2 separate regions of the Homo sapiens genome follow, and region 1 is linked to region 2. Evidence: promoter capture Hi-C in 16 types of primary human blood cells and fetal thymus (Javierre and others, 2016). All regions are on one chromosome and are shown on one strand. Each heading gives the region's core, a stretch centred on a gene start or on the middle of the fragment in contact. The rest is flanking DNA. Distances are from core to core; before and after follow the strand shown. Region 1 overlaps PITPNA (phosphatidylinositol transfer protein alpha). Region 2 holds the start of YWHAE (tyrosine 3-monooxygenase/tryptophan 5-monooxygenase activation protein epsilon).

What was found. Contacts are between HindIII fragments. The CHiCAGO score rates a contact against its expected background, and 5 or more counts as called.
Region 1: a fragment that was not itself captured here is called in contact with the fragment with the promoter of YWHAE in region 2 in 4 of 17 cell types (naive B cells, naive CD4 T cells, neutrophils and 1 more); the score reaches 7.1 in naive B cells.

Annotation. Positions count from the first base shown.
Region 1 is chr17:1,559,253-1,562,117 of GRCh38, reverse strand. All of the region lies in intron 1 of PITPNA (phosphatidylinositol transfer protein alpha), which reads left to right. Among named protein-coding and RNA genes, the nearest start is that of PITPNA, 2.1 kb to the left of the region's middle. RefSeq lists a silencer at 34-163 and enhancers at 274-373, 1,288-2,254. The HindIII fragment of the contact is 2,121 bases long and covers 466-2,586 here.
Region 2 is chr17:1,398,619-1,401,689 of GRCh38, reverse strand. It overlaps YWHAE (tyrosine 3-monooxygenase/tryptophan 5-monooxygenase activation protein epsilon), which reads left to right and starts at 1,468. Exons shown (of 6, transcript NM_006761.5): 1 at 1,468-1,643. The coding sequence starts at 1,580. RefSeq lists enhancers at 1-27, 970-1,607, 1,608-2,245, 2,246-2,883. The HindIII fragment of the contact is 7,246 bases long and covers 1-3,071 here.

The DNA of each region.
Region 1 (2,865 bases), core at 277-2,776, 160 kb before region 2:
CGGGGTCAGGGCAGGGAGAGCTGGCCCGGGACTGGGGGAGGCCGAGGGGACGCCGAGCGCTGGGAGTGCTGTGGGGTCGCTCTGCGCGGGCCGAGGGCGCGGGCTCAGCCGGGACTGCAGGCGGCGCTGAGAGGCCCCGCGGCGGCCGAGGAAGAGGCGCACCGGGGCAGGCAGGGCCTCCCGGCGGTGGGGAAAGGTGGAGGGCCGAACAGTTCACACGGAGAGCCGGGTGGATGGGTCAGAGGCTCCGCGATGGAGTTGGGATGGGGATGGGGAGGAGTGGCCGCCTTAGGCATCGGGTGAGGGGTGGTGGTAAGTGGACACAGGAGGAGGACTAGGAAGTCAGGGCCTGGCTGGGGAGACAGGTGAAGGGTCTGAGGACATGCAGAGGGGGCTGAGATGCGGGCCGGAGTAACCGTGGTGCCCAAGCAGCTGGTGCGGAAGAGGAGGCTTTTGGAACAAGCTTGGGATGACTGCTTGGGACGTGGGGAGACTTGGGCGAGGAGGCCAGAAAATGTTGGGTAGGGTCCGAAGTGGAGAAGGCCGGGAAGTTACCGGGGTCGAGGCTGGTCCGGAAAGAGAGTATGTTGGGATGAGTATACCTGCCGTTGGAGATGGGGGAGACCAGGGCAGGGCCAGCTTGTTTCTAGGGGATTCTCAGTCTTGGTGCAAAGAGATGGGGAAATTCTTTGAGGAATTGAGGGGTCCATGGAGCCGTGAACTGAGGAGAGATGGTGGAAGGGGTGGGGAGCTCTTGAGTAGTGAAGAGGGGTGCGTGGGAAACTGGTGACTTCTGGAAGGAGTTGCAGGATGACGGGTTTGCTCCTGAAATCCAGGGGACTGGGGGACAGGTGGAGATGTTTGGTGTGCTAAATCTTTCAAGTACAAGATGAGCCATCGTTGAAGCTCAGGGTTCCAAGTAAGCATCACAGGACATTTTTCTCCCCAAAGAGGAGAGATAGGATGGGTGTGTGTGTGTGTGTGCGTGTGCGTGTGTGCACAGAATTTACAGTGAAACTGCTTTCCTGGAGGGAGGGCCAGAAGCCCCAGGAGTGGGAGATGGTCAAACAGAGAGCAACTTGTGAGGCAGCCAGGCAGGTGTGCAGAGAGCTCTTGCCACTTTGTCAGCGATCGCACTTTGACCATCCCCACCAGGCTGGCTCCTTGGAGGTGCTTAGGACATTTAGGACATAGAGTGGAGTTTGGGTAACAGAGGGAGCTGAGACCCACATGTCATCCCAGCTAAACACCTCATCTGAAGAGCATTATTTTGAGGCCTCATCCCCTCTGTTTCTTGACATCCAGTCTGATGTTAATTCAGCCAGGGCTCGGAGCTTTTCCTGGTGAGGAGGAAGAACTTTACGATGCCAACAGGAGAACGTGGTGCACTTTAGATTTTAATCTTCAGTGTCCAGACTGACAGGCTTTTCCCATCCTTCTGATTCTTTTTCCTGTTCCCAAATGAACCCTAGAATCTGTAGAAATCTGTGGTTTTGAAATGAAGGTCAGGCAGGGAAAGGAAGGGACCTTCAGAGGAGATCTGAGTGAGGTTTGAAGAGAGGCACTCCTTCCCTGTCTTTGTTCTCCTCCCCTTGAAGCCTGCAAGGGAAAAGTCCAAGGTGCCGGAGATGCAGGGCCTGCCTGGTATCTGCGTTTCCTTCCTGCCCGACTCGTGCCCCGTGTGTGCATCCCTGGGCGGGGGACGGGGGAGGAGCAGGGGCATCAGGGCATCCGAGACACTGGCTGTGGCCGCAGCGTTGCAGCCCTGGAAAGGGTGCGAGTGAAGGTCACATTAGAGTGAGTGCCGCTCCAGGCCCAGCCCGGCAGTTCCTCTGTGGCCCTGTCCTTTGGAATTGTACCCTATTGCTGCCGAAGTGGTTTTGTTCCTAAGGAGCAAGGGGGCAGTGTCAGAGTGTGCAGCCGTCACGTCAGCAGCCTCAGCGCATCCCGTCAGGAATTGGCCCATGGCATTCTCTTTTGGGGTGAGACTTGGTTCCCACCCAGCGTCTGCAGGTTGCCCCTGTTGATTTTTCCAACACTTCCTCTAACAGGATTCTGTTTAATTTGATTTCTGCAAAATCTTGGATGTGATTTTGACTGCTGTTCTTGAAGATAAAAGGCTTATTGTTTTCTAGGAAGTTTCTTCTGAGGGTGCAGAAATTCTGGCCTCCAAGTTGGGAGTATTTTTCTGCACCACTGGCTTTCTGTAATGGGAGGGGAGGCTCACTGGCAGCATTCAGTAAACTGGAGGATTTATGTTGTTTGAGTTGCTCTGGAGGAAGGGAGTTGTTAGCAGGCAGTAAAGACTTGGAGCCCATTTTGTTTTTCCTGCTACTTTCCTGCTTGGTGTCTTGCCTTTGAGGTGATGTTTTCCTCAGACCCCTCTGTGTCCTTCTTGCTTCCTGGGGGACCTTTGTGGAACTAGAAAATAGCTGTTTACTAGCCTGGAGCAAGGAGCCTGAGTGGTGAGCCGGCTGCATAAGGAAGGCACAGCAGCTCATGCTTCCCTAATGCTTCACTAAACATGCAAGACACAAAAGGACCCAGAGGGCTCCAGCAAGGGTCTGGGGACCGAACGTCTAAGCTTGGAAACTGGCTGGACTTGTATGGGTAAAACCAAGAGTTTTTGTCTTAGCTCTCCCGCCTCACAGCTTTGAACTGGGGGTGGCTCTTGGTCTGCATTTCACATGCACGGCACCTGGAGAAGTGCTGCTAGCCCTGGCACCTCTGTGGGGTTCTGGCCCTGGCGGAGACTTTGCCGGCCACGGCTTCTCCAATAGGTTGCTGGTGGCATCTCCAGCAATTGGTGGTCATTGAGTTGGAGAAGAAGAAAAGAAAATGATAAATTGGGATTCCTTTGGACAG
Region 2 (3,071 bases), core at 219-2,718:
CCACAATCTTTATTTGATCTTGGTCCAACTCTTCTGTACCATGTACTCCACACCACCCTCATCTAACAAATTCCCTGCTCCTATTCATAGTGGGCCTAGGGAGGGAAAAAGGTTAAACAGGAGAAGACAAAGATCAGTGTGAGGGGAAAGTTGAGGCGTGAAAACTGGAGCTCCCCTGTCCCTGACAACTGTAACAGGGCCCAGTTCGTTTTTTTTCTTTTTCTTTGTTTTGAGACAGAGTTGTGCTCTTGTTGCCCAGGCTGGAGTGCAATGGTGTGCTCTCGGTTCACTGCACCCTCCCACTCCCGGGTTCAAGCGATTCTCCTGCCTCAGCCTCTGGAGTAGCTGGGATTACAGGCATGCACCACCACGCCCAGCTAATTTTTGTATATATATATAATTTTTCTTTTGAAACACAGTCTCACACTGTCGCCTGGGCTGGAGTGCAATGGGAGGATCTCGGCTCACTGTAACCTCCGCCTCCCGGGTTCAAGAGATTCTCCTGCCTCAGCCTCCTGAGTAGCTGGGATGACAGGCATGCACCACCATGCCAAGCTAATTTTTTGTATTTTTAGTAGAGACGGGGTTTCACTATATTGGCCAGGCTGGTCTCGAACTCCTGACCTTGTGATCCTCCCGCCTTGGCCTCCCAAAGTGCTGGGATGACAGGCATGAGCCGCCGCGCCCGGCCAGGGCCCGGTTCGTTACCCTGAGTCTAAAAGTGTCTGAAAAAGGCCCATGACCAGGCTTGGCCGAGAAAACTAGGACGTGGGCTGGGCGCGGTGGCTCACCCCTGGAATCCCAGCGCTTTGGGAGGCCGAGGGGGGGCGGATCATCTGAGGTCGGGAGTTCGAGACCAGCCTGGCCAACATGGTGAAACCCCATCTCTATTAAAAATACAAAAGCTGGGGGTGGTGGCGGGGGCCTGAAATCCCAGCTACTCGAGAGGCTGAGGCAGCAGAATCACTTGAACCCGGGAAGGCGGACGTTGTGGTAACCCGAGATCGCACCACTGCACTCCAGCCTGGGGAACAAGAGGGAAACTCCGTCTCAAAAAGAAAAAAGAAAAAAGAAAAAAGAAAAGAAAACCAGGGCGCGGTAGTGACAGCCTCAGATTTCGGGAAAGAAGACCTGCCATGACAGAAACCGTTACAGCCTCCGTCGTTCTTTTCCGCAGGTCGGGCCTCGGGCCCCGGTCTGACCCAGGTCTCTCGCTGGCTTTTTTCAGGAGCAGTCCCGGCCGGCCCCGCCTCAGCCCTTCTCGTTCCCCGGGGGCCGCTCCCTTTCGGCAGTCGCAGTTCCCGCCTCTGGGCTCCGGCGCCCGCTGAGCCGACAGAGGAGAGGCGTCTCGTGCGCTCGTTCCAGCCGCTTCGGGCGCCGAGTTCCAGGACCCGCCCCCCGCGCCAGTTGCCAGGGAGCGGTTGCCATAGAGCTGAGCAGTTGTCCGCGTGCGCAGGCGGAAGTCCCGGATTGAGGCGCCGCCATTTTTGCTGCCCGGACGCGGAGCGAGAGGCTGAGAGAGTCGGAGACACTATCCGCTTCCATCCGTCGCGCAGACCCTGCCGGAGCCGCTGCCGCTATGGATGATCGAGAGGATCTGGTGTACCAGGCGAAGCTGGCCGAGCAGGCTGAGCGATACGACGGTGAGTTGGGGGGGCAACGGGGGGCTGGAATTCTCGGACCCTCTGCCGCCGCCCACAGAGGCCGGGAACAGGAGACAAAATGGCGGCATCGTCTGCGAGCCTGGCCCGGGGGCTTGGGTTCGGGAAGCAGGAAATGGCCTGGGAGCTCCCGGGGCGATGGGAGGCTCTATGCCCTGGAATGTGACCCCTTCGCCGTCCTTAACTGCAAACAACTCGCGGGCCGGGAGGCCGGGGCGACGGGGTGGAGGAGTTGGTTGTAAAATGGCGGCTGGGGGGAGGGCGAGTCCCGGGGCGGGGGAGGGGGAGGAGATGGCGGGTGCTGTCTCCGAACGAGCCACCCTCATGGGAGCTTCTGGGACGGCCTTGGGATGTGGAGAACAATTGGGTGGGGTGACGGGGGAAGCAGCACCCGCCACATGGGAGAGAGCGAAGACCGGGAGCTGTAGCGCGGGCGCCTTTCAGGGAAATATGGCGGGTGGGGGCGGTGGCTTTTCCCCGGAGGCCCCGTGTGGGGCGGCGGCCGTGGAGTCTCACAAAGGAGGACCTTTGAGAGCGATGGGCTTCCTCAGGCCTGAGGTGGGGGACAGTCGTGGATGATGGTGGGGGGAGAGGGGTGAGTGGGAATCACTGCAGTTCGTCTTCGGGCGGTGGCAGGCTCCCATGCTGCGATCGGGTTTCTTTCCCGTAGGCCGGCACCTCGTAGTGAGGGGTTTCGGGGCTTTTCCTCCTCGTCGTCTTCTGGGGAGGCCCAGAAAATCCTCACTCCCTCCCTTTCCTCAGACTTAAAACAGGAGATCTCGAAGTTCCTGTAACCTTTCTCTGGCTCCATCACCCGTGGGTTCTGATGGATAGAACCAGGAGGCCACGACTCTGAGAGTTCGAGCCTTTGTAGAGCCCGAGCCTCCGTCCCCCCGTTTGTAAAAACGATGACTTTACAGTTTGTGCGCACCGTGATGACAAATGGGAAGACCTGTTGAAATAAAGTTATTTCCAATAGTGTTCAGTAACTGTATTTTGGTTGACTCTGCAGGCTCGGAATGCTGGTCTGTACTTCGTGGGGGATCTTAACCTATTCCAGGCGCTCGGCTGAGGCTGGGTTTTTTGAGTTATGAAGGTTGAAGATCCTGTTGCTTTCTTTTTTTCCGTTTTAAATAAATGGGTTTATGTAGAAATATTAGTAGGTCCTCTTTGTTCGTTGTTCTTTTGCCCCTAATGGGTTCTCCAGTCCTTTTTCAGAACTTCATCGAATGTCCATTGTGTCTGTCCAGTCATTGTCAGGAAGTTTATTCTTAATCCTCTCTCCCAGTCCACCTTTTGGACCACCTTTTGAAATACCCACACATTTATAATTGTGCGATACTGTAGTATTAAACGAAAGGTCATGTCTGTGGGTCCTGTGGTTTTAATGCTTTTGCGTGGTAGGGTGGG